7 separate regions of the Homo sapiens genome follow, and all the other regions are linked to region 1. Evidence: promoter capture Hi-C in 16 types of primary human blood cells and fetal thymus (Javierre and others, 2016). All regions are on one chromosome and are shown on one strand. Each heading gives the region's core, a stretch centred on a gene start or on the middle of the fragment in contact. The rest is flanking DNA. Distances are from core to core; before and after follow the strand shown. Region 1 holds the start of COPB2 (coat protein complex I subunit beta 2). Region 2 overlaps SLC25A36 (solute carrier family 25 member 36). Region 3 has its middle 85 kb from the start of SLC25A36. Region 4 has its middle 110 kb from the start of SLC25A36. Region 5 overlaps ARMC8 (armadillo repeat containing 8). Region 6 overlaps ARMC8 (armadillo repeat containing 8). Region 7 overlaps ARMC8 (armadillo repeat containing 8).

The links. The method cuts DNA at HindIII sites, captures the fragments that hold promoters and counts their contacts. A CHiCAGO score of 5 or more calls a contact.
Region 2: a contact is called between a fragment that was not itself captured here and the fragment with the promoter of COPB2 in region 1, in 3 of 17 cell types (naive B cells, naive CD4 T cells and total B cells). The highest score is 6.9, in naive B cells.
Region 3: a contact is called between a fragment that was not itself captured here and the fragment with the promoter of COPB2 in region 1, in 4 of 17 cell types (total B cells, naive B cells, naive CD4 T cells and 1 more). The highest score is 11.4, in total B cells.
Region 4: a contact is called between a fragment that was not itself captured here and the fragment with the promoter of COPB2 in region 1, in 1 of 17 cell types (total B cells). The highest score is 6.9, in total B cells.
Region 5: a fragment that was not itself captured here is called in contact with the fragment with the promoter of COPB2 in region 1 in 1 of 17 cell types (naive CD8 T cells); the score reaches 5.3 in naive CD8 T cells.
Region 6: a fragment that was not itself captured here is called in contact with the fragment with the promoter of COPB2 in region 1 in 3 of 17 cell types (total CD8 T cells, megakaryocytes and naive CD8 T cells); the score reaches 5.3 in total CD8 T cells.
Region 7: a contact is called between a fragment that was not itself captured here and the fragment with the promoter of COPB2 in region 1, in 1 of 17 cell types (total CD8 T cells). The highest score is 5.2, in total CD8 T cells.

Annotation. Positions count from the first base shown.
Region 1 is chr3:139,387,453-139,391,686 of GRCh38, forward strand. COPB2 (coat protein complex I subunit beta 2) reads right to left here and starts at 2,195. Exons shown (of 22, transcript NM_004766.3): 1 at 2,096-2,195. The coding sequence starts at 2,098. It overlaps COPB2-DT (COPB2 divergent transcript), which reads left to right and starts at 2,351. Exons shown (of 5, transcript NR_121609.1): 1 at 2,351-2,481. It also overlaps the pseudogene LOC124906339. RefSeq lists enhancers at 1,873-2,122, 1,919-2,480, 2,413-2,712, 2,481-3,043, 2,923-3,032. The HindIII fragment of the contact is 7,530 bases long and covers 1-4,234 here.
Region 2 is chr3:140,959,776-140,964,009 of GRCh38, forward strand. It overlaps SLC25A36 (solute carrier family 25 member 36), which reads left to right. Exons shown (of 7, transcript NM_001104647.3): 4 at 3,352-3,452. Among named protein-coding and RNA genes, the nearest start is that of SLC25A36, 20 kb to the left of the region's middle. The HindIII fragment of the contact is 5,552 bases long and covers 1-4,234 here.
Region 3 is chr3:140,855,216-140,859,449 of GRCh38, forward strand. No RefSeq gene overlaps it. Among named protein-coding and RNA genes, the nearest start is that of SLC25A36, 85 kb to the right of the region's middle. The HindIII fragment of the contact is 1,493 bases long and covers 1,358-2,850 here.
Region 4 is chr3:140,827,313-140,831,546 of GRCh38, forward strand. No RefSeq gene overlaps it. Among named protein-coding and RNA genes, the nearest start is that of SLC25A36, 110 kb to the right of the region's middle. The HindIII fragment of the contact is 1,270 bases long and covers 1,881-3,150 here.
Region 5 is chr3:138,208,822-138,213,055 of GRCh38, forward strand. ARMC8 (armadillo repeat containing 8) reads left to right here. Exons shown (of 22, transcript NM_001363941.2): 2 at 996-1,072. Among named protein-coding and RNA genes, the nearest start is that of ARMC8, 24 kb to the left of the region's middle. The HindIII fragment of the contact is 3,133 bases long and covers 217-3,349 here.
Region 6 is chr3:138,239,049-138,243,282 of GRCh38, forward strand. It overlaps ARMC8 (armadillo repeat containing 8), which reads left to right. Exons shown (of 22, transcript NM_001363941.2): 10 at 420-480; 11 at 2,735-2,935. Among named protein-coding and RNA genes, the nearest start is that of ARMC8, 54 kb to the left of the region's middle. The HindIII fragment of the contact is 1,100 bases long and covers 1,586-2,685 here.
Region 7 is chr3:138,258,230-138,262,463 of GRCh38, forward strand. The region is part of intron 12 of ARMC8 (armadillo repeat containing 8); the gene reads left to right. It also overlaps a transcript of NME9 not described here. Among named protein-coding and RNA genes, the nearest start is that of NME9, 70 kb to the right of the region's middle. The HindIII fragment of the contact is 1,145 bases long and covers 1,194-2,338 here.

The DNA.
Region 1 (4,234 bases), core at 945-3,444:
CATTTAGGACTCAGCTTAAATGCCACTGCCACCAGTAAGACCTTTCTAGTTACCCTAGCCTGAAGCATTCTTTCCTAGGGAATCCTATAGGATTTCATTTTAACTGTTCATGGTACACTTGTGTACACATCTTTTCTTGCTTTCTAGAGTAGATCCTCCTTAAAGCCAGGGTCATTGCTTATACATGTCTTTATCTCCAGATCACCTTATATATTTGAGTATGGGGGTTTAAGAACAGATACCATAACACAAGACTAGAAAGCCATGATGGATTTAAATTTCAGTTCCACCACTCATTTCAGATGTGCAATAGTGGGCAAATTTACTTAACCTCTTTCAAGTTTGACTTATGTAAAACAGGAATATTATTATTATCTACCTCTTAGTGCTGTAAGAATTAAATTCAGAGTTAGCCAGTTAGAGCAGTGCCTGACCTACAGTAACCACTTCACAAACATATAACTCTATCTCCCAGCTGCTGTGAGAATTAGGCAGCCATGTTTAGCAAAGTGCATGGCAGACACTAAATATTCTATGGTAAATGTACAAATGAATGAATTCACGTTTTGTATTTTCCACAAAGGATTTAAAATATATAAAGAATGAAGGCAATATTTCATTATAGAAATACACTGGTAAATGTAAAGACGGCAAAAGAAAATGAAATTAGGCAGATCCAAGAGCCTTTTCCAAAAACGTCCATTACTGCAACCACAGCAGACCCAAACTACATCAGGTAGTTAGTAATACGAAGTGCTCTAATTAAGAGGCTTGAGGTCTTGTTCAGGGACTGTAACCTGGGTGCCCAAGAAAGTCCACGGATAGTGCTAGCTTCGGCAGCACATAGAGAGGAGATTAGCGTGGCCCCTGCGCAAGTATGACACGCAAATCCGTGAAGCGTTCCATATTTTTTATAAAACAAATTAAAAAAAAAAAGAAGGTCCATGGATTGTGGGGGGGGGTGTCTGTGAATGAATGCACTGAATTTTATGCAAAAATGTTTGTTTCTCTGTGCATTTTCCCTGGGAGTATTCCTAACTTTTTCCTAGTTCCAACTTTGCCACAATTAACCTTGTAGAAACATAATTTAAAAAAATTTTTTAACTTAAGATGAGGGACTTAATCCCTAGCGTCTTCAAGCTCCAAAATGTTTGATTCTGTGCTTCATAACAAGTTTTTTTTTTTTTTTTTTTGAGACGGAGTCTTGCTCTGTCCCAGGCTGGAGTGCAGTGGTGCGACCTCGGCTCACTGCAGCCTCTGCCTCCCGGGTTCAAGCGATTCTCCTGCCTCAGCCTCCTGAGTAGCTGGGACTACAGGGGCCCGCCACCACGCCCGGCTAATTTCTTTTTTTTTTTTTTGCATTTTCAATAGAGACGGAAGATATTCTTATACTATCGTTTTCTTTCCTTATTATTATAACACTCTTGTGCAAACTAGTCTAGGGCGTTTTTTAGGGTTACGGTGATAATAACAAAGTGCTCTAACAATTACTATTCTTACCAGCCACTGGATTTGCAAATGCATAAAAGCACACCAGCCAGTGTTATAAACAGCACCCCCTTCCTCCCAACCCTTCTTCTCCCCTTAGAAACCTAACAGCTGAGATATCAAAGCATTTGAAATTCCATTTTTGACTCCATATACATTTGTTTTTGGCTTCTTTGCTTGTTTATAGTTTGTAGCCAGCACACACTATCCCCAGAATAAGCCCAACAGGAGTGTAGATTAACTACCACCGTTTTAAAGGCAAACTTTAGTTTTACCAAAGCCTCCTACGGAGTTCAACACATTCGGCTTCTGTGTTTCCCTACACCACCGATCCCGCTGCAGACTGCAGGAGCTCTGGCAAGCGCCACAAGCGCCAGGGGAGACAAAACCCCTCACTAGCAGGCTTTGCCTCCCCAAATCACCCCGGTCCCCTAGGCCCCACCGCCTTCTCCCTTCCTGGAATCAAACGACCAAGACCCCGCAAGGCCTGAGGCGGCGGCCGCAGCGGGAGCCCAGACCACTGCTTACCGCGGCCCTCAGTCCAGAAGCTCCAGGAATCGGCCGTAACCTATGGGACCCCGCTCCCTTCTACGGGATCTGGACCTACCATGGCTGCGTCGGTCCAATCCCGGGAACCCTCGTTTGTTACCGGCTACTCAGGCCTTGAGATAAACCCACCGATCCACTGACCGTCAGACTGACTGACGTGGAACTTCCGGGAGCCGATTCTCGCGATAGTCAGAGGCCAGGGCCGGAGCGCCTGCGCAAACTGCGCGCAGGGCCGTCGTTTCCCAAGCCCCGCCCCAGTTTCCTAGGCAACGTGGCCTTCCAGACCGCTGGTAGTGGACTTGAGGCTGTCGGGAAGGAGGGGTGTGGCCTAGACCACTAAGGGCCGTGACGTGGTGCCGCTGAGCTTGGACCCCGACCAGAAGATAGAGATTGAAACGATGAGGAAAACGAAGTGCCTAATCCCCGCTGGACGCTAACTGCAGGGCAAGCTCCCCAGTGTTGTAGTTGTGTTTCGGAGGCCGAGAACCGCTATCGGGCTTCCTCGGACTCTGGCCCTGGAGGGGGGAAACGGCGAGGGAGAAGGCGAAACGAGTCTCCAGTGTGTTCTTGGGGCCTGGTGCGAGGCCCAGAGAATTCTCTGCAGGCCTTTGCCCGGGCACTGATTAAGGCTGCGAAGAGACGCACCGGGCTGCGGGCTTAGTAGCTTCAGGCTTCTGAAGTCAGAGGGAGGGCTGAGAGCTTACACTTCTGGAGCTCCCCGGGAGACGGCAACTACCCAACCGTGTGGGTGTGTTTGTGTATGTGTCTTTTGTTGAGCTTCGGCTGGCTGTGTTATTCATTCAACAAATATTTATCGATCTTCGGCAGTGTGTCAGACATACCTTCTTCTCAAATCTTCACATCAAACCTGAATTATCTCCATTTAATGATGAGGAAACTCGGGCTCAAAGAAGTTAAGTGTTCTAGCCAAGACTGCATAGTAAGTGGCAGATAAAACCTCAAAGTTGGGCCGGGCGCGGTGGCTCACGCCTGTAATCCCAGCACTTTGGGAGGCCGAAACGGGTGGATCACCTGAGGTCAGGAGTTCGAGACCAGCCTGGCCAACATGGTGAAACCCCGTCTCTATTAAAAATACAAAATTAGCCTGGCGTGGTGGCGGGCGCCTGTAATCCAAGCTGTTCCAGAGGCTGACAGGAGAATCGCTTAGAACCCAGGAGGTGGAGGTTGCAGTGAGCTGAGATCGCGCCACTGCACTCCAGCCTGGGCAACAGAGCAAGACTCTGTCTCAAAACAAAACACCTCAAAGTTTGTGCTCTTTCTACTACATAAAAATATCTCTTCATTAATGTGGCTGAATTCTAAGGGCCTGTGCCATAGGGGTTACACTACACAATAAAGTTCGAGAACATTTGCCTGTCACACGCACTGCACATCTCCTGTATTTCCTTTTTTTTTTTTTTTTTAAGAAAACATGTGGACCATAGAAAACTTGCCCTCTGGTTACACGTACAAACGTGTATTTTTAACTTGAGAGAAATCTTAAAGTCTTTTCAGACCTCCAGATTTTCAGAAAGGCAAAAAGAAAAATTATGTATTTGTGTGTGTAGATAATGATAATCAGAGGGAGATGATTTTGCACGAAATTATTTGGCTTTAGTAGGAGCCTTGAGCTAATGTGACTCTCTTCATGGGCCTCAGTTTTCATCATCTTAAAAAAAATCCAGCTACATGGTTTCTAAAGATCCTTCCATTTTTTTTTTTTTTATGTTTCTGTGGCATTCAATAGTGGAAAAAAGAGTCTGGAACTGGAGTTTAGTGCCAGCAGTGTGATCTTATGTAAATTGAGACTAATAATTCTAGTAATTGCATACTTTGCTTACTCTATGGAGTGACTGAGGATCCTGAGTTGAAAAAATTATATGAACTATACCTAATTTGCTTGAATAGTGGAACTTTCAATATTTCTAACTCCTGAATACTCTTGCACTTGAGAGAGTATTTTTGGATTTGGCACAGTACTAAGTGATACAAAATAAAATGATGTATCTCTATTGTCAAGGGGCTCAGCTGGGAATGCTTAAATCTTTGTATACCACTGGGCCACCTAAGGGTCTACCTAGCTGGTGTTGCGGGCCTGAACCCTCAAGTGTCATTCTTACTTGGACTATATCTTTTCTCATGTTTTCCACTGCAATTAGCCAAAATTAAGTCCTGCAATTGTAGACTGTAAATTCAC
Region 2 (4,234 bases), core at 511-3,010, 1.6 Mb after region 1:
CAGTATTTCATTGCTGTTAGAAATTAACAGTAGTAATATGAATACAAAGGCTATGTTTCATAATGTGAGGGAGAAGGTATAGTATTTGCATTAAATTATTGATAGTCTTATACTGGGGGAAAATAATAAAGTATCGCATATTATACCTAGAAGTTTAAGGAACAGTGTATTTATAGATAAGAGTTTTAAATGTTAAAATTCTATAAATGGACCTGAGATTTTTTTGGGGGAGATGTTGTAATCAAAGTTGAAAATAATGAATATATTATATATCTTTATATTGCATAGACTAGGAGATATAAAATTACTAATATTTGCAGGATAAATGGAAATACTCTCGTAGCTAGTGGCAGTGTATTGAGTCTTCTGGGGAGATGCTTATCCTCTCATCTGACCATAGGAGTTAGAAGAATTTGGGGGTGCAGAATTGAAAATCTACACAGGGCTAAGGCTGCAAAATACTCCTGATATTTTGAGATAAGTGTTTGCTAGATTTGTGAGTTTAACTAAACCAGCTCTTGCATCTTGAAAAATTTTGACTCTAAGAAAGGTAAGCATTCTTTTAAACAAAATATTTTCCTTGGGCCAAAAGGCATTTAGGATATCTCGACTTTTTCTGCTTTTCATAGCTGTCCTGCTGTGCGCTCCACCTGAAGTTAGTGTTCCTTTCTCACTTTCCACATAGAAATTAAACTTCAAAGAAACAAGATAGAAAATAGAACCAAAGGACTAGGAAGGATGTCAGGGCTTAGAACAGGGTTGAAGAAAGGGACAAAAAGTCTAAAAACCTGAGAATTTGTGTATCGTTGAAGGGCAGTAAGTGATGTACATGGCCTTTACCATAATAAAAAGGAAGCTATTCAAGGAAGATGCTGAAGAGGTGTCAAGGTGATAAGGATAAAGAACTATGGTGTGACAAACAGGTATCAGTAACCATCTAAAAGGATGGGCATGGCACCATGTGTAGGTGCAAAGGACCACATAGTAAGACCATTGTGAAGTAGTTTTTAAAAAAGTCAAAAGACAGAGAACAAGCAAAGGAACTAATAACTAAAGGAACAACCAAAGGAACTAGCAGTTAGAAAGGGGAAGATCTGGAACTCTTAAAACTAAGTCATTGTTTGGCTTATGGGACAAACCAAACAGATAGAATGGTTGCAGTCCCTATTAAGCCAAAAGGACATGAAAACATAACTTCGTCATTTTTCTCTGACACCATTGCATCTTAGATTGTTAACCTCTTCCATGATAGAACACTGTATAAAGTTCATATTTAGAGTGAAAATGCTTTCTGTATCCAAACCATGTACCAGATCCATGTCTTGTTATTTATTACGTTTCAACTTTTTATGGGTTCTTTTCTCTCTTTAAGAAAATATCCAAAATTGCATCCTAATTATAAAACAAGTTAAAAGAAAAAAAACACCATTAATAGACAGTTCATGTATATTCTTCCAGTAATTTTTCTCGGTTATCATATACATAAAAACATGTATACTTTATTGTGCTTTACATAAACTGAATAATACTAAATGTTTAACCTAATCTAACTGAAGTTTTTCCATGATAATATGTGGGGTGATTTTTTTAAAATTGTATAGCATTCTAGCACTAATAAACATTTCCTTATTATACATTTAGATTATTTTTAGATTTTCATTGTATAAACAATGGTTCAGTAAACATACCTCAACCTTTATCTTTGAATACTTTAGGAAGTATATTTTTTTAGGATGGTCACCTAAAATTAGAATTTCTGGATAAAAGGGCATATGCATATTTAAGACTAGTGAATATTGACCGGGCAGAGTGGCTCACACCTGTAATCCCAGCACTTTGGGAGGCCAAGGCGGGTGGATCACAAGGTCAGGAGATCGAGACCATCCTGGCTAACACAGTGAAACCCCATCTCTACTAAAAATATAAAAAAATTAGCCGGGTGTGGTGGCGGTCGCCTGTAGTCCCAGCTGCTCAGGAGGCTGAGGCAGGAGAATGGCGTGAACCCGGGAGGCGGAGCTTGCAGTGAGCCAATATAGGGCCACTGCACTCCGGCCTGGGCAAAAGAGCGAGGCTCCGTCTCAAAAAAAAAAAAAAAAAAAAAAAAAAAAAAGGCATACTGGATTTTTATCCCTTATCCATAGCCTTACCAATGCTGGCTACTGTCCATCTTTTTTAAATACTTACCAAATGGACTAAGAGGGATTTTTCACTGTTTTAATATGATTTATTTAATTTTTGGTGCAGTCATACTTTCTTGTAATTTGTCATTTGTATATCTCTCCTGTGAATTGCCTATATATATTTCATGGCCATTTTCTCATTAGGATTTCTTTTTTTCTTACCAGTTTCTAGAAATGCATTGTTTATTCCTCTTCCCAACTTGGCATCAAGTGTATCTTATGTTTTTCTTTCTCATAAATTAGAATGTTTCATTTTCAGTTATATTAATTTTCCTTTTTTCTTAAGTACATTAAAAAAGGTACAACAGTGAAATTCTCATTTGTATTTGTCACTCTGTTTCTTATTGGATGAGTAATCAGGATTTTTGGGGAAATAACTGGATATTTCATACAGCAAGCAAATAATTCAAAGCATGGGAAGTTAACATAGAGGTGGTAGTGGGGATGCATAAAATCGTAGTCAGTAAGTTAACAATGAGGGAAATAATTAAATTTCACTCAGTGTTTACAAACATTGGAAAACATTCTGACCTGATGGGTCTGATTTCTTTTGTTGGAATTGTTTTGTCTGTTTAAGGATAATGTGAATTACTGTGTGTGTAGTATAATTAGAATATACCACAGTATCTTAAAATTGTTTAGCATATACTTTAATCAGTTGGATCTGCTTCACCCTCTTCTCCCCATGAAGAAAATTATATGTTAAGTGCTCATACCATATCTACTTATCTTCAGTAACTATATTTAGCCTTAGCATTACACCAGCCTTACAGCCTTATTCATTCATTTAGTTTCTAAACATTAAAATCTTAAATACTTTTTGTTTAAATTAGTTATTATTTTGTTTTTATTTTTTTTTAATTTCATTTTTTCTTTTTATCTTCTTGGTTACCAAGTTTTAGTGAGTTAAGTGGCTGTCAGAGTATTGGAAGGGGGTCTGTTTGAGGATGAATGGTAGGAATTTTACATTTGATGTTGTCTTATTTTAATGAGTCAATACAGAAAGTACTTCAGAGTATTTATGAAAAGTGTAAATCTAATGTTACATGAGAATGTGGCTAGGACTTTATGGTTTTTAAATTTCTCCATTCTAAAATTATGAAGATCAATTTATATGTAAATCTTACGCATTAAGAACATGCTTATTGATAAATCTAAATCTCTATTTTAGAGCAATATACTTTGCTGCTTATTCAAACTGCAAGGAAAAGTTGAATGATGTATTTGATCCTGATTCTACCCAAGTACATATGATTTCAGCTGCAATGGCAGGTATGAATGTATAATATTAAAAAAAAAAAAAACTTTCTGAAACCTAGAGGCTTAATATTGAATTATAAGTTTGTAGTGAAAAGTTGATGATTAATGTGCTTTTCATTGATTAGATGATTTTTACGTTTATCGATATAAACCAAATTAGGTATATGTAAAATCTGTCATCAGTTGACATTTTTGTAGTCAGGAGTTTACATGCTAGGGTACAAGTAATATATTTATATTGCCTTGTGTAGTCCACTGAATGTTTAGTGATCATTGTTAACAGTTTTAAGAATCCAACCATAATTACACTATAAATAAGTTATGGAGCTGTAATTTACTCTTCTCTCCTCAATTTCTGTTAGTGCCTTTTCCCTTTTTGCTGCATGTTTTGGCTTCTGTCTGAAATGTGTCGGCAATTCTTGGTAAAGTATTCATTTTGTCCTGTGCTCAAATGCTGAAATTTTTGTGAGTGATGTATTATTATTGACAATTCAGTTACTATGTGTATTTTTTAAAATTGTTTATTATTCTACATAATTCACACTAGACAGCACCTGAAATTTAGACACTGGCTATGTGTACATGCTTACTATAGAAATGTTTCCAGGAACTCTCTGTTTCTGTCATCACTGATAAGTATATATGATTCTGAATTAAAATAACTAGTTTTAGGTCTTTACCCTGCCATAAAGATAAACAGTTGGTTTGACCAATCTGGTTCTGGAATCATTTGCTGCTATGCATGTTAGACAAAGCCACGAACTTTGATTTTCCATTGAAAATTCTCCCTAATA
Region 3 (4,234 bases), core at 854-3,353, 1.5 Mb after region 1:
AGCACCAGTCATAGATTTTACAATAGTAATGTTATCCCTAGGAGTAACAGGGGAGGTTTGGAATCTTGTGACCTCTAGCTGCTTGATTCCTAACCCATAATTTCTAATTTTGTGTCTAATTTGTTAGTCTTAAAAAGACAGTCTGGTCCCCAGGCAAGAAAGGGCTTTCTTTCAGGAAAGGGCTGTTATCATCTTTGTTTCAAAGTTAAACTATAAGCTAAATTCCTCCGAAAGTTATTCTGGCCTACACGCAGGAATGAATAAGGGCAGTTTGGAGGTTAGAAGCAAGATGGAGTCAGGTCAGATCCCTTTCATTGTCATAATTTTCTCACTGTTACAATTTTTGCAAAGGTGGTTTCAAAGGTCCTAAGTAAGACCAGAGATAACCATGCTTTTCTGTGTATTTTGGAGCAAAATTTTTTGTGTTTGTTATTTTCATGTGTTACAGAGTTTCTCCTTATACATCTAAATGATAGCCGTTTATTTATAGAGATGTCTAAGTGTGAAAAAAAATTTTAATTGTGGAATATCATATATGTGATAAGATTACGAGATACTCATAGTTTATAAATTGTATTTATGAGTCATCATAAATTGAGCTGTTGAGATATTAACTCAAAATGAACTTTTTAAAATTATTTACCTGCCTCTCTGTGTTTTCCATAACATAAAATCCCTGTAGTCTTTCATTTGTGATTTTCCTTATACATTTCAATAAAATTAAAAGTGTTTTTATTATTTTCTAGATCTAGACACAATGTGGAGCTTTTAAAAATATTTCTGTTATGGTTTGGCTGTGTCCCCACCCAAATCTCATCTTAAATTTTAGCTCCCATAATTCCCACTTGTCATGGGAGGGACCCAGTGGGAGGTAATTAAATCGTGGATGCGGGTTTGACCATGCTGTTCTTGTAGTAGTGAATAAGTCTCACAAAATCTGATGGTTTTATAAAGGACAGTTCTCCTACACAAGCTCTCTTTTTGCCTGCCGCCATGTAAGACATGGTTTTGATTCTCCTTGCTTCCTGCTATGATTGTGAGGCCTCCCCAGCCATATGGAACTGTGATTCAATTAAACGTCTTTCCTTTATAAATTACCCAGTTTCAGCTATATCTTTATTAGCAGCATGAGAACAAACTAATACAATTTCATTCTTTTTACTATTATATTATCTGAATCAGGCTAGATTTGAATTTGTTAGCATAGCACTAGATCAAGCAACGTTAATGATCACTTCTTGTATAGCTACTCCATCTTGTGTGATGGGGCAAAGGTCATCAGTGGAAGGGAGTCCTCTAAGCATCTGGGTCAACTTTGTGTGAAGGTGGAAGCGGCAGAGAAGTTGCCAGGATGAGAAGCTTCTGCAGATACCCTTCAAACCTCTCCAAGTAACCTCTCTCTCCCACTGTTGATGGCTTTCTCTACACCAGGACATAAGTCTTTCCTTCTGCAATTAGAGAAGGCAGGTTACTTAAATTCATATGTTAAATTATTCATTGAGAGCAAGTTGTGATGGAAGCGTGGGAGGAAAAATTGAGTACTCCATTTGTACAGTCTCCAAATAAGGTACATGCATTCATTGCCTTTTTACAGTCTCACAAGCCTACGAGGTAGGAGTGTTGATGTTCCCATTTTACAGACAAAGACCCTAGAGCTTAGAAGTGCTGAGTGACTCCCTCTAGTTGCCATGGCTAATAGAGTAGGGATTTGAAGCCAAGCAGCATGAATTCAGTTGTAATGCTCTTAGCCACTGTGCTAGGAACTTGATAAATGGATTGGAAACCATGCCCTACGCAAATAGTAAATGCAATTTGGTCCAGTCCAGGCTGGGAGTGCATGTGCTGAAAAGGTGCAAGATAAGCATGCTGAGGCTGATTGATAGGGCTTTCTCAATTGCCTATTCCTACATTCTGTGTCTGCTTCCACACTGGTGACCCCCAACCCTGGGAAATGCTTTTCACACCTATTCATTAGAATATCATTCAAATTTACAACTACTGAGGTCACCTAGCAATTTACAATTGCTTTGTCTGCCTAGCTTGAGCCTGCTCAGAAACAGCTCTTCCTCATCCTACTCAGATGCCCTGTAAGGCCTCCTCCCTGCCCTACAGAGCAGAAAGTAATGAGGTTAGTGTATGCATTCTCCAAAATTCATATTTTTTGCTAACTCCCAAGGTGATGGTATTAGGAGATAGGGTGTCTTAGTTCATTTGGGGCTGCTATCACAGAATGCCTGAAACTGGATAATTGATAAAGAACAGAAATTTATCTCTCACAATTCTGGAGACTGAGATGTCCAAAACCCAGGGGACAGCAGATACTATGTCTGGTAAGGGCTTGCTCTTTGCTCCAAAGATGGCACCTTGTCACTGTACCCCCTCATGGCAGAAGGATGAACACTATACTCTCACAAGGCAGAAGGAATGAAAGGGCTAGGCAGCTCTCTGAAATCTTTACAAGGACATTAATTCCATTCACAAGGAAAGAGCCCTCATGACTTAATCACTTCCCCCAAAGGCCCCACCTCTCAATACCATCATCTTGGGGTTTAAGTTCCAATATATAAATTTTGGAGGGACACATACAATTCAACTCATAGCAACTGGTATTATCCACTTCACATCCACTAGGATAATTGTAATAAGAACATCATATAATAACGAGTGTTGGATGTCGAGAAATCAGAATCTTCATTTGTTGCTACTGGAAACATAAAAATGACACAGCCACTTTGGAAAACAGTGTGGCAGTTTGCCAAAAGTTAAACATAGAGTTATCATTTGATTCAAAAATTCCCCTTCTAGGTATATTATATCCTAAAGAAATAAAAACATACATGTCCACAAAAAAGCTTGAATGCTTATGTTCAGGGCATTATTCATAATAGCTAAAAAGTGGGAACAATCCAAATGCCCATCAAGTGATGAGTGCATAAATGTGGTATATTCATAGGATGGAAATTTATTTTGTCATAAAAAAAGAATGAAATACTCATGCTACAACATGCATGAATCTTCAAAACATTATGCAAAGTGAAAGAAGACAGTCACATTTATGATTTCATTTACGTGAAATGTCCAGAAGAGGTAAATCTATAAAGATAGAAAGCAGAATAGTGCTTGCCGAGGGCTAGAGAGATTGGAAAGTGACAGCTACAGGGTACAGTGTTTCTTTGGGAAATGATTAGACTGTTGCAAAATTTATTGTGATGATGGTTGCATACTTCTGTGAATATACTAAAAACCACTGACTTGTACACTTTAAATGAATGAATTTTATGGTATGTAAATTATATTTCAATCAAGCCACTAATGAAAAAAAAAGGTGACATAATGGAAGACAACATCCAGGCAAAAACAAAAATGATTTCAGTGGATGGATTGATCTGGCCTGGAGCAGTGGTCTCATTCAGGGGTGTACCTGTTCCTGAGCACCATGAGATGGCCCCTGGGAGGTCCCAGTGCAGAGGATCCTGACCACACGTGGAGAAAACAGCCTTGCAGGTAGTCTGCTTTCAAGATCGGGGGACTGGACTCAGAGACTAAGAGGCAGGAGAATGTGAGGGAAGGAAGCTGAGCTTTAGCACCAGATGCACCCAGGCCTGATAGCTGGTGTGCATGGCAAGTCAGTTTCTTCTTTTGAGCTCCAGTTCTACTGTCTACACCCCTGTCACTTAAAGCGTGCTCCTGACCAACAAGATCAAGCTGGTAGACATGCAGAATCTTAGGCCACACCCCAGAACTACAGAATCAGAATCTGTATTTTATTGAAGTTTAGCAAGCACTGACTTACACAGTGGAAATAACAATACTTTTTTCAAAAGGACTTTGTGAAGATTCTTAACAGTAATTACTACCATTTACTTGATACTCACTATGTGCTAGATACTAGGATAATCTAGAGGAGGGGCCTAGCTTAGTGCCTGCACATAGTAAGTGCTGTGTCTGAATGTTTGTGTTCCTCCAAAATTCACCTGTTGAAACCTAAACCCCAAGGTGATGGAGGTGGGGCCTTTGGAAGGTAATTAAGTCATAAGATTGAAGCCTTATAAATGGGATTAGTGTCCCTATAAAACAGGCCCCAGAGAGCTGCCCATGCCTATCCACTATGTGAGGTCACAGCAAGCAGGCACCAACTATAAACCAACAAACAGGCACTCACCAGATATCAAGTCCAGCAGTGCCTTGACCTTGGACTTCCCAGCCTCCAGAACTACAAGAAATGAATTTCTGT
Region 4 (4,234 bases), core at 1,266-3,765, 1.4 Mb after region 1:
CCTGTGTAATATTTAACTGGGTATCCTGTATTTTTATTAGCTAAATCTGGCAATCCTACCCTCTAAATATAAGAGGAATTCAGAGAAGGGAGAGAAAGTGTGGCTTGTAATAGAAAAAGAGGCTGTCATGGAAGACAGAGAAATTGAACCAACTCAAGAAGGGAACATAAAATACATGCTAATGCGCCCCCAGTTGCACAATTGCAGCAGATGAATGCCTAGCAGATGGCGGGCATTCATAGCAGGAAAGCCAGCATGAGTAAAGGCCTAGAGGCTGAAGTGAGGTGGCAGAGTAGAAGACAGTGAGAAGGACAGCTGCCCAGACGCATATAATCCAATATTTCCAAACATCTTCCAGTTCCACAATGGCCATGCCCCTCCATGCTCTCATGACCATTGAGCCTTTCTGCATGCAGGTCCCTCTGCCTGGAACTCCTTCCCCTCCTCTCTGTCTGGCTACCTCCTAGTGCACTAGAGTTCTGGTATGTCAGCTGACTCACCTCCACACCAAATCCTTATGTGTTGATCTTAACAAACCTTTAAATGCTTGTGTGTCTTTCCTATAACCTTCTAGCATGTCTCCACTGATAGTTAAAGGAAGTTGAAGATGAATTTGTGATAAATACATTTGGCCATCCTTTGGGGTTCTGCCCCCACCATGGGAAATACCCTAACTCCATGTCTGCCTTGTAGAGCTGTGGTCAGAAGTCATCTACTGGCAGGATATCTCTGTCCTCCAGACATGAAACAGGGCAATGGGCTTCAGTACCATCCTGGGAATTCTTCAAAAATGTCTCCTCCCATGTGGGTTTAATAAGCCCAAGATCTGATTCACCCTGGTAAATGCTATCCTGAAGCATTCTGACTGAGCTATTTTTAAATTCATGCCCACTTCCCTCAAGAGGCCCTTCGTACTACCCCACAGTCATGCCTTCCCTCCAAGCTGGTCTCTCTCAATCTCCTAGACCACCTCATCCCTTCTCTCCACCCACAACTTTATCACCTCCTCCCCATCCCCATGCTCAGATGAGGACCCAGCTGCTCACTTCACTGAGAAACGTAAAGCCATCAGAGGAGAACTCCTGCACTGCACACCCCAAAGCCACCCACCCACCTGCCCTCCTGTTGCAGGAATGAGCTATTCCTACTCCTGTCCACTGGCTGTGGGATTTCATGCCTCTCACCTGCTAAGGCCATCATCCCTGCAGTTGTCACTCCCACTGGCACCATTGCTTTCCCTCTCTACTAAATGATGCCCATAAACATGTTGCTTTTCTCTCATCTGGGAAATGTCCTCCCTTGACCCCACTTTCCCTACCAACTATAGGCTCATCTCTCTGCCCCTCTTTGTGGCACAACTCCATGGAAGAGGTGACTCCATAGCCATTCTCCACTTCCCTCCTCTCATCCTCTCTGGGCCCATCCTATCAGCCTTTGGACCCATCACTCCATCAAACCTACTGCGACAGGGTTATCAGTGACCTCTGGTCTTTGCACCATTGACCTCTCAGCAGCATTTGACAGAGGTGGTCATTTCCTCCTCTTTGAAATGCTTGCTTGGCTTCCAGGGCAGCACACACTGCTTATTTTTTCTACCTCTCTGGCTGCACCCTCCCAACCTCCTTTGCAGGATCCTTCTCATCTCCCCAACTTCTAAGCAAGGAGGCCCCCCAGCTTCATCCCTCAGCCCTTATCTATTCTATCTTTAGAGTCCCCCACTTGCTGATCAATCTGTCTCACGGCTTTAAATAACAACTCCCAAACACTCCCTTGAAATCCAGGCTTGTATGATGATCTGCCTACGTGAAATCTCCACTTGAATGATAGCCAGGCATAACAAACTTAACATATTTTTGCTCCCCAAAACCTGTTCTTTTTGAAGCTTTTCCCATCTCAATTAATGACAAATCTGTTTTATCAGTGACTTAGAACAAAATCCTTTCAGTGATCATTGACCCCTTTCTTCTCTCACACCCGCATCCAAGTCATCAGCAAACCTATCCATTCTATCTTGTATGTATATCCAGAATCCTGCCACTTCCCATGCTTCCACCATAGCAAGCCACCACCATCTCTTGCCTGAACCATTGCAATAGCCTCCTTATTGACCTCCTTCATTATTGATCTTGCCCCTCTACTGTCATATCTCGACACAGCAGCTCTTAAATGTAAACCTTGCCATGGGGACAGAAACTCCACAACTTTATCCACTTCTGCTCTCCTCCTTGAGCTCTCATCACCTGGCCTTTCTGCAGTTCCTTGAACACACCTAGCACACTTCTTCCAAGAAACCTTTGCTCTAGTTGTGCTCTTTGCCTAGAGTGCTGCTCCCCTCCCCAGAAAGCCACATCGCACTCTTTTCATCAGTTCTTGCTCAAATATCACCTCAGCAGAGAAACCCAGACCACCCTATTTAAAATAGTGTATACCCACACACACATACAAGAACACATATTCTATCACTTTACTCTGCTATTTTTTCCATAGCACCTAACATATTATCTATTTTTGTTTATTTATTTGTTCTCTGCCCATCCCTACTAGAATGCAAGCTCCATGACAGCAAGTGCTTTGCCTATTTGGCTTACAGCTGAATCCACACAGCGCAGAACACTGTTTGGATACTAGAACTTCCCAAGAAATATTTACTGATTGAACAAATATATTAATTTCTTGTGTATGCTGGTGGTGGCAGCCAAAGTCAGCCAAGAACCTTAAAGTGCCTGGCAGCTTCCCAGAGCAAACAGAGGTACCCTCAACAGGCTTGGGAAGGATAAAGAACATCTCCACTCATACTTCTGGTCTCAGTTTGTATGTCATTTCTTTTCTGATGCCCTCCTCCCCTCAATAATTTAAAGAAACCTCTCTGTTAGAAATAGAGGATGCTATGCTCATATTTATTGTAATTTCTTCTTAATTGTCCTCCTTATAAGGCTGTATATTTTCTGAGGATGCATATGGAATTCTCAATAAATACCTGTCGAATGAATAAATGAATGAAGTTGAGTGAGCCGTGCATGGCATGAAGCTGTAACTAGGGGGGCTGAGCTTGGCGTCAAGGAAGAGGATAAATTAAAAGGAGAAGGAAGGGGTCATAAGTTTATAATATTATTTTATAATAAGGAAGGAGGAAGAGGAAAGGGAGGAGGAAGCTTGGTTTTATCTCCCTGCCAAATCTTGGCAAACTAACTTTGGCCCTAGAAGTATCTGCACACACAACCTAGCTGGCACAATGTAGTCAAATGACTTTATTGGTGTAGCCTATAGGACCTGCCTGTCCAGCTTTATTGCGTTATTCACTTTTCACCTTCCTTGTGATGAGTTCCTATGGGAATTCTCTTCCTCTAGGCAAGGTGTCCCCAGAGGGGAATGAAATTGATATCAGATGGAGCCTGGAAGGGTGAAAAAGTACACAGCAAGAGGCTCTTGCCTGTTCTGTGGTTCTGCTAGCTACTTCCAAGCCTCTTTTCTTGTATTTATTCACTGCTTATCTAACCTCATTTTTCTCATGCAATATATACCCTACATTGGGAAATGTACCCTGTCCCACCTCTCTAAAGCCTTTCCACCAATAAGGCTCAACACAGGCCCGACTTCTATAGGGACTTTACTCCAGCCAGTACATATCTTTTCTTTCTCTAACCTTGTTGGCATTTATTTTAAAATACATTCTATGAATAATTTCTTAGTATATTCTATTGGTATGCATATAGTAAATGCTAGATAAACAATAGCTATTAGCATCAAAATCATGCTGTTAGTATTCTAACAAACAGTAGGCTCATCAAGAGTAGGAATCATAAGTTTTCTTCCTTTCATACACCCCAGAGAACTTACCCCAGGGCTGTGCAGATACTAAGTGTCCAGAAAACACTTCTCCAAATATGTACTGTCTATAAAAGTTATTGTTGTAGAGTGAAACCAAGGAGCCATAGAAATGGTTTCCCTGTTGTAACAGCTATCTCAAAGATGTCTTTAAAATGCTGTCCGTTGCCCTGGCCCTATCTGAGGAGCACATACTTTATTCCAGGAGAGATGCTGTAATGGATGGAAGGTATGTTTCTGCTGAGTTAAGGGTTATAATGTTCCCTGCATCGAGGCACCAGATTGATGGGATATGCCTCTATGATTTATAATACATTAATCTCACTGGAGAGTGAAGCACAATTAATCTTAGAATCTTGCAGCTTGCACTTAACAACTTTAGAACCTTCCCTACGTACTCAGCCTGCAT
Region 5 (4,234 bases), core at 533-3,032, 1.2 Mb before region 1:
AGTATTACAAGAAATAACACAATAGAAAAACTTCACAATACAAATGAAAAGGAGGTAAGTGTCTTCCCTTTGTACTCTTTCTAATTCTACCCACCCTTATCCAGTTCAGTTGAGACAGCTTGGGTGGCCTACAGATCACTCTAATTCTTAATTGTTTTCCTTCACAGAAAGTGTGACAACTCCTTTATTTATTTTTACTTCTGCCTCCAGCAATGAAGCTTCTCTACATTAGTCTAAGGATTTCCTCTTGTACCTAGACTACCCCTTACAGACTGTTTCATGGAGTCCTCACTCTTCCCTGGCTGAGAGCCAGATTTTGTCCTTTTGTGTATACTAATTTATAGAAGTAATATTCCTATCTATTAATTATACGTACATGACACCCAGCAGTTAGTGAAGAAACTTAGCTTGCTGCTAAGTGTATATGCTAACATATTTGCCTAGGTCTTCTGTTGGCAAAACTTCTAGGGCTCGCCACAAAGGTCCCACTGTCTAGCTATGTGTTTAGTGAGAACTAGGAGTCTTCTTTCTTTTCTGTCTTACTGTTTATCTTTGTCATGAGCTTTTTTTCAGACTAATGTAATAAAGTATTTACAAAAATATACTTAATATCTTCCTGATGATTCTTCTGAATGAACAAAGTGATGTGCTTTGTAATTACGTTGATTTTCCAAACTCTCCTGCTAGTTTTAAGACATAGTAAAATGTATACCATGGACATTCTTACTTTTGAAATTGGGCATTCTTAGAAGAAAAATATTGATCTTTGACATCTTGAACTGAACACTACAGTTTCCCATTATTTTGATACCTGAGAGAGAAAAGTCACCTGCTTAAGTATCCCATATCATGAGGAGGCAAAACTAAGTATTTCATATAAATTTTAATGCATCTACCTTAAGTTAAATTATCTAGTCACTTGATATTGTGGGTGATGCTGTGAATTTGTGATTTGCATGGCTTCAGATGTCATAATTTTTCCCCCCACTTTCTAGGAAGTAACAGCTAGCAGTCGCCACTATGTTGACAGGCTATTTGACCCTGATCCCCAGAAAGTTCTACAAGGTGTCATGTAAGTAGTATGTATTTAAGAGTCTATCAAAAAGTTGTTTGTTTTCATGTTTTAATCTGCCACATATTTTAATTTTGAAAATACAGGGTTATACCTTTTTTCTTTCATTTGGCTTCTTTCTAGAAAGACTGCTTGACATTCATGACGTTTAATATTTTACCATAAAGAATTGTCTTTTGAATAGTTGTTAACTGACATGGTTAGCTTCATTTTTTGTAGAATACTTGTTTCACATTAAAAAAATGTTTTCTTTGGAGAATGCTTTTGCTTCTTTAATATCCACAAAAGCAGGAGAATAAGATTGATGGTCTTTCATAATTGGAATGCAGTGAAAGAATAGACCAGTAGGGTTTTTTGTTTTGCTTTGTTTTGTTTTTGGTTAACTCATTAACTGTCACCAAGATTGAGTCTCCTGTTGATGTTTTAAATTTCGAATTTAGAAAGCTGTCAGAAAATTTAAACTCTTAATAACCATAATGCCTTTTTTTCTCCAAAATTTCATGTTTAATGAGAGGAAACATTTTTAAGCAACATACCAGAGGTAATTATGCTCTTAAAAAATTAAGAGAAGCAAGTAGGATAAGATTTCAGATTTATTCCCTTTCCTTTGAGTTTCAGATTATCATACTCTTAGCGCATTAGTTCTAAGGAGGAAGGTCTAGACTAAGGCTTATCATGGGGTTGGGAAATGTGAAGGATCCACAGGCCTGAACTGTGTCTATGGGAAGAAAGACACAAAAAAGGGTCAAGATACATTTGGGTAATGATGAGGGCGCCCATGAGGGAGGCCTCTTTCTTTTTCTCTAATCCCATAAGCATTGTCAGCCAAATAGTACTTTAACTTGTGCTTAGCCATGGCAAGGCTGGGATGCTTTGTTTATACAAGTTTCTTCGGACTGCAGTTCTTAAAGCCTCTCTCCCCAAAGGCATTGTAGGCTTTGGAGTTGTGAATTTATAAAGGGAGGTAAAATAAAAGTGCTGTAAAACTGCTTGGCTATTCAAATTGAGCTGGAAGGGAAGGTGGGAAGCTGGTTAGGATCCACCGAGATACTTGACGCTTATTTTCACGGCTTCTCAGTTTACAAAAAACGGTGGTATTTCTGGTGTTCTCATTATGTTAACTTTGCCTTTGTTCCCTTAAGTAGGAGACTTTATAATTATTTAATCACTCCTTTTTAGACTAGTTTAATTATTACCAGGAAAAATGGTTTATTAAATCCATCTATTAAATAAATCAGTTTGGGTTGTACCTACACACACAAGTTCGTCAAGGGGGCAGGTTTTACTTAACACTCTTCCTTAGACAGATACTCTCCACATATAACCAGATAGCTCCGTATATAGATAATTCTAAGTATTACTTAAAATTACTCAATAAATGGTTGAGAATGTTAGACTTATTAAGTGTTCAATAAATGGTATTAAAAGATGATATCACTGCTACTATGTTTAGGAGAAAGCTGTTTAGTAATCAAGAATTCTGTGTGATAGACTGGTAGAGTTCTATCTGATATGAGTAGCTGATTCGAATGTTGTCACTTTGAGAAATTTTTTACTTACCAAAGAACACTAGTTTCTCAAAAATTGATAAAATACCAAATGATAAAAGTGGGAAAGATAGAATTATGACAAAGCAGCTAAAATGTAGTTTGATAGCCTTAGTGTCTTTTGAAAAACTACCAGTTTGAGACCTAATTAGCTGTCAGCTAGACATAAAGAAATGTTTGTGTGAAGGAATGGTAGAGTAGAAGGAGCGTGGGGTTTGGAGTTGGACCATAGTGGTTTGAATTCCTAATTCTGACATTTTCTGTTATGGTCCCTTTCTAGTGGTGTGCTTGGACAAGTTTTGTAATTTCATTGAGCCTCAATTTCATCATCTGTAAAGATAACACTGCCCATATTGCCAGGTTGATGTGAGAATTAAATCAGAATTATAAAATTCAATGTCTGATACGTTGTGGATCAGTTGGCACTTAAGTGGTTAGTTGTTATTAGCTCCAATTTAAAACAACTTAAAAAAAAAGATAATTCTCCTCAAAGAAGAGAAAGGGGGAAAAAAACAGAGGAGACAGTTCAAACTAAAGTAGAAGAGAGAGAGGGACTAAAATTCCTAACTCAGACAAGAGAATGTGAGTGATAACATTCTAGTAAACGTGATTGCTACTTAAAATACTAAAATCTGTTTATAGTTTAAAGGGGACAGATCACCCAACATTTTTTTTTCTTTATCTCAGAGTAATACTGATCTTATGGAGATAGTGTAGTGTGATTTGATAAAGCTTCCTTTTCTCCAGATAGAAATATTTATTCTTTCTGACTTCTTTCTTAAACTTTGTTACTGTCTGAAAATTAATTGTACATGGTCAAGAGAATGAAAAGTGGATTACTTTCAACATTATCTGTCTTTAAGTAATCTTTTTTTTTTTTTTTTTTGAGACGGAGTTTCACTCTTTTTGCCCAGGCTGCAGTGCAATGGCGCGATCTCGGCTCACCGCAACCTCCACCTCCCGGGTTCAAATAATTCTCCTGCCTCAGCCTCCCGAGTAGCAGGGATTACAGGCGCCCACCACCATGCTCGGCTAATTTTGTATATTTAGTAGAGACGAGGTTTCTCCATGTTGGTCAGGCTGGTCTCGAACTCCTGACCTCAGGTGATCCACCTCTCGGCCTCCCAAAGTGCTGGGATTACAGGCGTGAGCCACCGCGCCTGGCCTAAGTAATCTTGTTTAATACAATATGTATAGAAAAAGGGAATGAAAATGGTATTTAGGAAAAGAGAGTTGACCAATTTTTTGATTTTTATACACCTCACAGTCATCATTAAGTCACCATTAAGTCATCATTAAGAGACCATTACTAGACCAAAATAGGTAGGTAGAAAGATGGCCACAGAGTATAAACAACCAAAGGTAGCCTATTAATTTTAGGGAAGGAAAAGGTAGAGGCCGAAATAGCATTAAATCCAAAATATTTAATTGAAAGGACATAAAATAATTGACAAAAATTGTAGCTTTGACTACAAGCCAACCAGAGTTTTATCATTTTTCTGGCTCTTTCAAGTTTGATTTTTCTCAATAAATGTTGTGAACATATACGAGGCATGGTGGAAGGCATGTGTAGTTAACAGTTGCTTGGGAGGCTGAGGCAGGAAGATTGCTGGAG
Region 6 (4,234 bases), core at 886-3,385, 1.1 Mb before region 1:
GGAGTTAGAATATTCCAACTTCATTTAAACTGAGATAATGTGTTCATCTTATGTTTCATTTTGAACATTTTTCCCTTTTTATTATGGAAAATTCTGAAGTATAAAGAATACAACATGTGCCCAGCACCTAGCCTCAAAATGTGTCCATCATTAGGTTATTTATTTTTAAAACTATTTGGTAGGTTTTTGTTTCATTTTGTTTTTTTAAATATCTGGCTTACCATCTGTATTTGTCAGTTAGTTTTCTTTGACTATTAAATTGACTGAACCTCCGAAAAGCGAATTGTCAAAATCTTCACTCTCAAGATAAGTGATATTATTTGGTTTTCGATTTTTTAATAAAATCTTAAAGGCAAATAATTTTTCATTTAAAGCTTTAAACTCCAAGCAAAAACTTATTTTCTGCTGTCTTATTCCAGTTTAACTTACATGTGTAGAGCTGGAGCAATTCGGACAGATGATAACTGTATTGTATTAAAGGTAAGCTAATTAATTATCTTTAAAATGTGAAAATTATCCAGTTATGTGTTAAATATCAGTATTGATACTCATATTTCATTTTACACATTTATCATTATGATATATGTGCATGGCGTAGAATAATATTGAAAGACCATGCTTTCTTTTCAGTGGATGTCATATAGTTTTTAAAAATTGATTTTAGATGTGTTTCGAAAGTCAGCGTGAAATAATTATTTCATTGTCACAGCCTTTCATTTTATGGTAATTAGGAGGATGTGGAAATTGTAAAAGTGTACAATTCAGGTGAAACAGAAAATATATTTCGTTCTTGATTGTCATTAAATTTGTACTACAGTTTTAGAGGCAGACGATTTGCCACTTTTGCAGAAAAAGACTTTATATCATTCTCATAGCTGATAATCAAAAGGCATAATGAAAGAGAATAAGTAGATAACACATGAAAACAAGCATTGTCATTGTGATATGTCATATACAACTTGAATTTAGAAAAACCTGGAGAAAAGACCAGCCCTAAAAGTCCTAAAACCTGGATTCTGGTTTTAGCACTCCCACCTCTGACTGTACATCCTTTATTCTTTTGATGCCTCGGACTCCAGATTATGAAAATTGAAGCAATAATTCCTGCTCATCTATGCACAGGGTTATTGTGAGGATAACAATATATTAAATACATTAAAATGTCTTATTAGCTATAAAAAATTAAGTATAAGTAAATTGATGATGTGTCATTTTATAAATATGAGATCTCACATTATCATTGTTCAAAAGGTGATCCCAAGGATAAAAGAGCACAAAGAAGACTAATATTTGCTTTAGTCTTTGGGGAAGAGAATTAATTTAATGAGATCTGAACACTCCCTAAGTAAACAACTCTTCATAGAGTGCCACGGACTTCCATAGCATTTATCTTGATTTATTTACTTCTCTAACCTTCCTCTTTTTCTGCATTGGTAAAATGTTAGTAGTATATTCTTCACATAGTAGTCATGAGCATTAGATTACATAATTCATGAATTTATGGTATCAATAAATATTAGTAACTAGTAATGTTAGGGAAAAAAGAATAGGGCCTTCCCCTTGGAAACCTAGGGTTGAATTATAAAGCTTCTACTAGCCTAATAGGAAATTAGTAGTGAACGATGAAGTGCTAAGCTCTGTGGTAAAAGATATAATAGGAACTTATTATATATAAAAGAGCAAAGCACAGTTGCCTGCAGTATTTGAGGAAGACTTTCTATAATGATAACATTTCAATTTATACTTCCACATTGTCCTTTCAAGTGGATCCGTCAGGCTTAGAAATAGTAAATGTCGTTCGAGACCAGCCTGGCCAACCTGGTGAATCCCCATCTCTACTAAAAATAAAAAATTAGCCAGGAGTGGTGGTGGGTGCCTGTAATTCCAGCTACTCAGAAGGCTGAGGCAGGAGAATTGCTTGAATCCAGGAGGCAGAGGTTGCAGTGAGCCGAGATCGTGCCATTGCACTCCAGCCTGGGCGACAGAGCGAGACTCCGTCTCAAAAAAAAAGAAAAAGAAATAGTAAATGTCTGTAATATTTTTATTGAGAACCTAATGTAGATAAGTTACCAAACCATTGCCAAGATTTTTGAGGGACCTCAGAAGTAAAATTGGACTCATGGATACCACTGCTAATTCCAGCAAGTTACTGGGAAAACCTAGCAACTGTGATACATTTCAGTTGCATTATAGTAGAACTGGTGGAATCTGAGTAATGGTAAGATCACTGCAGTTTTAAAGCTGTATTTTGTTTTGGCAACTGTAGGTATGACTCCCCAAACCAAAAAATAAACGATATTACTCACTAAGGAAGAGATAGCATACTTTTCCTAAGGCAAAATCATTCCTGATTAAACTGCTGGGTCTTTTTTAGGTAAATAAATAGATAGATAGGGCAGAACCATCAGACATGATTTGTTAGGGATTCTTAAATGTCTTTTACAAAGTTGTACAATAAAACTTGTCTTATCGGTCCCAAAAGCCTAATTAGAATTTGTATTAATATACTTTGACGTACGAATAGAGTTTAATGTGCCAGTACAAATTATTAATGTGTACTGAATTTTGCTTGTTTTTGCATTTTAAAAAAATCTTTTATTCTCTAGAAGTCAGTAAAGGAAATATATGATCATAAACATTACTCCTGATAAAAGCTATTGAGTTGATTCAGTCACTATATGCTTAAGCTTTTACCTTTACCAAAAAGCAAATAATTAATCTCACTACCTTTCAGACATTACCTTGTTTGGTTCGAATGTGCAGTAAGGAGAGATTACTAGAGGAGAGAGTTGAAGGAGCTGAGACACTTGCCTATCTGATTGAACCAGATGTTGAGCTACAGAGAATCGCTAGCATAACTGATCACCTCATTGCCATGCTTGCTGATTATTTCAAGTATCCCAGCTCAGTGAGTGCCATCACTGATATTAAAAGGGTATGTTATTTTCCTTTTTTAGCAGCTCAAGGGAGATTTTTCTAAAGTTTTTCTTACTGTTCACAGTTTTGAACCAATTGATAACTACAGCTTAAAGCCCTTTTAAATAAAGGTTCTTTTATCTTTGGTAACATAGATAATATTGCTTTGTGAATTTTTGAATCCAAGTTGTTTAATGTTTATTGTCAGAAAGTTTTTACTGAGCAGATAAGCAATAAAGAAAATTGCATCCTAACTCCCCAACTAAACCTCAAAAGTAGTGGATTCTCCAAGCTGGGTATTGACATAACCGTATAATCTTATTCTTGGTCATGGAATCATCTCTGTTGTTACATTCTCATTCTTTAGGTCAGGAGTAATCTTTTTGTTACAGGAGACTAAGTTGTCCCATGTTACTTTCCACCACAGTCTATTTTGTTACCTTTCCCTATCTTCTCTTTTTCCCAGTTTCATACTGTGCTTTGGGCCTGCTAGTGACAGCTAAAGCATCATTTAATCTTGAATTTGGGACCAAAAAGGCCAAATTGTGCTTTTTCTGAAAACCTAAGTTCCTTAGAATAGATCGGTATTTATTTTGACTTGTTGCATCTCAGCCTGTTTGCCCTATCCATTTCTTTAAGCATAGGAGATGAACATTCTGTAAGAGAAAGTTTATTCAAGGAGGTCATGGTAGAGAGAACATTGCCTCTTAATTAGTAGCCAGTACTGTTTCATGAATGTAACTGTATTTTTCATGCCAGTGGTTCCAATGGTAACTATTCTCCTTTTGACCTCTCCCTCATGCTTTTGAGTTTCAAAAAACCTCATTTGGTAGGCAGTTGTTCATTTGGCTTTTAACTTTGAAAATAAAGCAAACTATTAAGGGTATATCTTTACTCTGTCTTAAGAAGGGCCTAAAATAACCTTCACTGGTATTTGTATTAGTAATGTACTCTACTCTCTGGGTATTAAACTTATGTGTCTGCTCTTCTTTCAGTAGTGGTGTTTTTCCAGTAGAAGTGATGGGTTACATACATTTAACCAGTTGCCTTGTCTGTTTTCCTTCTGGTCATTTTTTCACACTGACACTGTATCTTACCAATACAAAGATACATGAGCAACCCTTAGCTACTGCCTCATGAACGCCCTGAGTTGACCACCCCAGGAAGGCAAATAAAATGTTTTGATGGCCATGAGAGTAAGGAAACAATTTTAAGAACATGTAGCCTATGCATATGCAAATCATTTAACTAGTACGTAGATTATCCCTTCTGTTAGTTTTTCCATTTCATTTCCATCAGAGTAAAACTGTAACAACAA
Region 7 (4,234 bases), core at 516-3,015, 1.1 Mb before region 1:
CAGTTTCCACATATTTTGGTTGACCTGGTTTCAGCACAGTTGAAGCTAAAGTCCAAGCTAAAGTTTTTCTAGTATCAAGAATGTTTCATCCCGAATAAAGCTGGAAGAATAGTTTGTCTTGTTTTTTCAAAGACCATATCTCTGACTCTTAGTTCTTCATGTGCTCAGAGGAAAAGATGGCTTATGTCCTGGCCACAACTAAATTTTGGATCTACTAAAGGTCATGGAGGGCTGGGAAGTTCCCTTGTAGCCAAAGGCCCATTTTCAAGTTGTTGGAGTTCCTGTGTATACCATAAACCACCACCTTAGTATTATCTGGATTCTGCATTTTCCCCATGATCCTCTGGACTGAGTGCCCCTCTTTCCCACTGGTCATAAAAGTCTTGTCCCGATTACAGGGGGCTCAGATCCTGTTCTAATAGATCCTTATCCACTCCTGCAAGAGCAGCAATGCAAGAGACAGTTTCGCAAAAGCATGTCATAAAAGCTAAAGACACCAGCAGGGAGGTACACAATACCTGATCCATTGACCTAAAGCGGTCAGTTGAGGATGCAACATTTTTTGTGTTACTTAATTCTGTAGTTTACAGCCCAGGCCCCTAGAAAAGCCTAGGAAGAAAGATGGCCTCCTCCACTCTGAGGATTCAGTCTACTACAAGTACCCCTTCTGGCTGGGCACAGTGTCTGTGTAACAGAGGGCACTGTCTCTTTTTCTTTTTTAGCAGATCCAACCAGCTATGCCACAGGGCATATTTGCTGAGCTATGGCCGAGGAGTCTCCAACAAGAACCATGAGGGAGAACAACTTTCAGCTTTACTTGGCATTGCTCTTACATCCTGGAAGGACCTAAGATGCTTTTGCAGGGTGCTAGGACTTGGCACCCTCCATCATATCAAGGCTGTGGAGCACGGTACTGGGGTCGTTAAAAGGCACCACGGAGGACATGTTTTATTGCTCTTGGTTTTCCAATCCCATGTTTGAAAAGCTGTCTGGTGCACTGTTAAACCTTCATATGGGTCAGAGGGCTGTGGCAGCAGCCACTACCAGCTCCTTCCCTGCTGACCTGAAAATTTTTTCTCTGGACTGGATTCCAAACCTTTTCCTGTCTGTGATCACATTTTTGTCCTCATTTTTGTCAGTGTATTCACTATAGTGCCCTTTGTATCCATACACAGACGGTCTCCATGCCCTCAAGCTTGCAAAACCCTGGTTAGATCATATTGTCCATACCCTTTTGGAATTCAAAGTTTACATTCTAATTTTATATTGTTTTTCACTCTCACTCCCAGACTGATGTCTTGATGGAGAAGGTGGACCAGAGATTCAAGCATGCTTTCTAGAACCCTAGCAGGGTTACTGAATTATCTCCATTACAAGTTCAGTTACAGATTCAGGCCTTCTGCTATAGACATTCTGTTAGACTATGATCTAAGAAGGGTCAACTTGTGCCTGAGGGGAAGATACCTCCAGATAGTTTTATGTCCTGACTTGGAAAGCGTTTACCAGCCACCTTATAGCTATACTCTGTCTCCAAAGTATCAGGGACCATACACCCCTAGAAACTTTAAAAGAAAGCGCAAAGCTACACTCTTAATGTTACAGTGATTGAGCCCTAATGTTTTTCCACTGTCCTAGATTGTAAAATTCCTGTTCTTGAGAAAAGATGTCTTCCTACCTTCCCTTTGTAGATACTTGTTTCAGTGTGTGGCCCCATGGTCCCTGTCATTCCCAAGGTGTTCTTTCTACCATGAAATCAAGCACCATAGCACTGAAACACTTAAATTATGTTTGCTTATTCAATACTGTGAGTTTGGTAGAAGCAAGGGCTTTCTCTTCCTCACCGTTTTGTTTTTGAGTTTCAAAACCATGCCTGTCACTCTCTGGGCACTCAGATATTTGCTGAATACATAATTATAGAAATGCAAGTAGGAATTGCGCTGTTTGCTTTTCCTTGCCTTCTCCTTTAGCACTCTAAGTAGACCTGAACCATTCTCCAGCCTCTCCTCACCCGCCTTCTTCCCAAGTTCCTTCTAAACAACATGGTAGTTTTGTCCAGACTGACTAACATGATCCTTATTCACCTGCTGATTACAAAAGATTGGAGATAAAATAATCATTACTGTATCTCCTCATTTTACTGAAGGCCCAGAGAGGTAAATTGCCCAAGATTATACAGCATATCCACTCCATAACATTCCATTTCCCCTGCTTCACCCACTAGGCTGGCTACCTACTCATTTTATTTCTGATCATCACCCTATTCCCTTTCCACAGGTTCTTTCATATCAGCCTTCCAGACTTTGGGAAGAGGCTACCGTCTGGACTTTAGCCCATACTAAGCTTGTAGAATTTTCTGTCACATCTCTTGTGTGGAATTAGGCTTTTTCTTGGTGCTAAGCAACTTCAGGGATTTGTGACCTATGGCTATACTGAGATATACTTTATTAAATGCCTATGATTGCTACATCATTCTGGTTCTTTGGTAGATTTACATCTTTGATTGAATGTAGCCAGGAAACCTTATCTAGAAACCTCTTTCAAGTCTTGGCCACACCCAGGGCAAGCATCTGGAGCCAATGCTAATAGTATTTCTCAGTTCTTTCTGGAGAGTAACCATGTGTTCAATCCATCCGTACTTCTACCACCACCACATTCTCTGATGATGTAACTATATCCAGTACAGGCAGTTGTTTCTCCCAAGTTATCACTTCTCATTCTTAAGTAAAAATAATTTCCCAAGCCAGAAGGATCTTTCAGGCATAAGCATCTAGTCCTCCACTGCCTGAAACTTTTGCCCTAGGCTTTTGTTTCCTTCCCATATTGAAGGTACTGATTTGGCCTTGTCTGTTTCAAGAACAGTGACTAGTGCATGATTGAACTAACCCAGCCAGTCTTTGATGGTTGCTGTAGCACAGAAGATTAGGTAATTTGGAAAACACACTACTATGACCCCCAAGGTAATAGTAATAAGGTCCCAACTAGTTTAATGGAATGCGAAAGGAATGAATATAAGGTATAGTGCTAAGTAAATTGTTTTGGTTTTGTGTGGTAAGGGAGGAAGAGTTGGGGTCAAAATTAGCACAAATGTAGGGCCTGGGTGGCTGGGAGAATGTTAAAATACCGTTAGCAAAAACAGAAAGACACAGAGAACAAGCAGGTTTAGCCAAGGCTAGGGGGTGGGAGGACAAATTCAGTATGAGGCGTAATAGATGGGAAGTTCCACTGAACATCCATGTCATATTTATTAGGCAATCAGAAGTATGGAGCTAGAGGTCAGGAAAGAACTCTAGGACAGAACTTTAGAAAATTTCCAATACTGAGTTGGTTTTTAAGTCACAGTATTGTTATATATAAGAGATGGAGATGGACAGAGCCTTTATTGTATATATGCCCATTTAAAGATGGAAAGTGGGGAGAGGACTAGCTTCAAGAGGTTAAAGTTTGGACACTTAAACGTCTTTTAAACAGGATTGAAAATGAGAGGTAGGACAGAGTAAAGATGTGAGAACATTATGGAAAGGTAGTTTTTGGATCAAGGTAGATAGGCTTTGAGCTTGAAGTACCCAACCTTGACAAGAGTAAAGAAAACAGCAAAAGCATGGAGACCTTTCGTCAGAAGTGGGAAGTTGCAATGTGTGTCCCCAAAATCAAGGTCCCTACGAAGATGAGGTGGGCACAGAGTGGCTGCGAGCATGAGGGAGGCAGAAGAATTTGAAGTAAGAGGTAGCTACCATAAGGAACATGGGCATCTCCAGGGGGTTACAAGGCTGGTCACCAGCAGTGAGGGTGCCGCTGAGGTGGGATAGCTTACACGGAAAGAACAGTCATGTTTGGTGGTTTTTCTAGAGCAACATCAGCAGTTGGTATCTGGAGGAGGAGTAATGAATGGTGGGAGGACAGTGAAAAAGGGAAACTGTCTTCTAAGTGGAGTGTCTGAGCAGGACATCCATGCCAGGGGGAAAAGATATGAGGGAGTCACAAAGAGTAGGTAGACTGAGAAAGGGAGGAATTTAGGGGCTAGAGGTGACAATGAGGACAGAGAGTGATTGTGCATATCAGTAAGAATGGAATTAGGTTTGGTCTAGGGCGAGGAGTAGATCAATATGTAAATGTTTTGGAAACTAAAACACCAGATAAAAATTACCATTCCTAATCTACAGCTAAAATGTGGTTCCCTGTTCTTAATAGATGATATTTTCCCTGATCATTGTTAATTTCAACAATATTTTCTTCT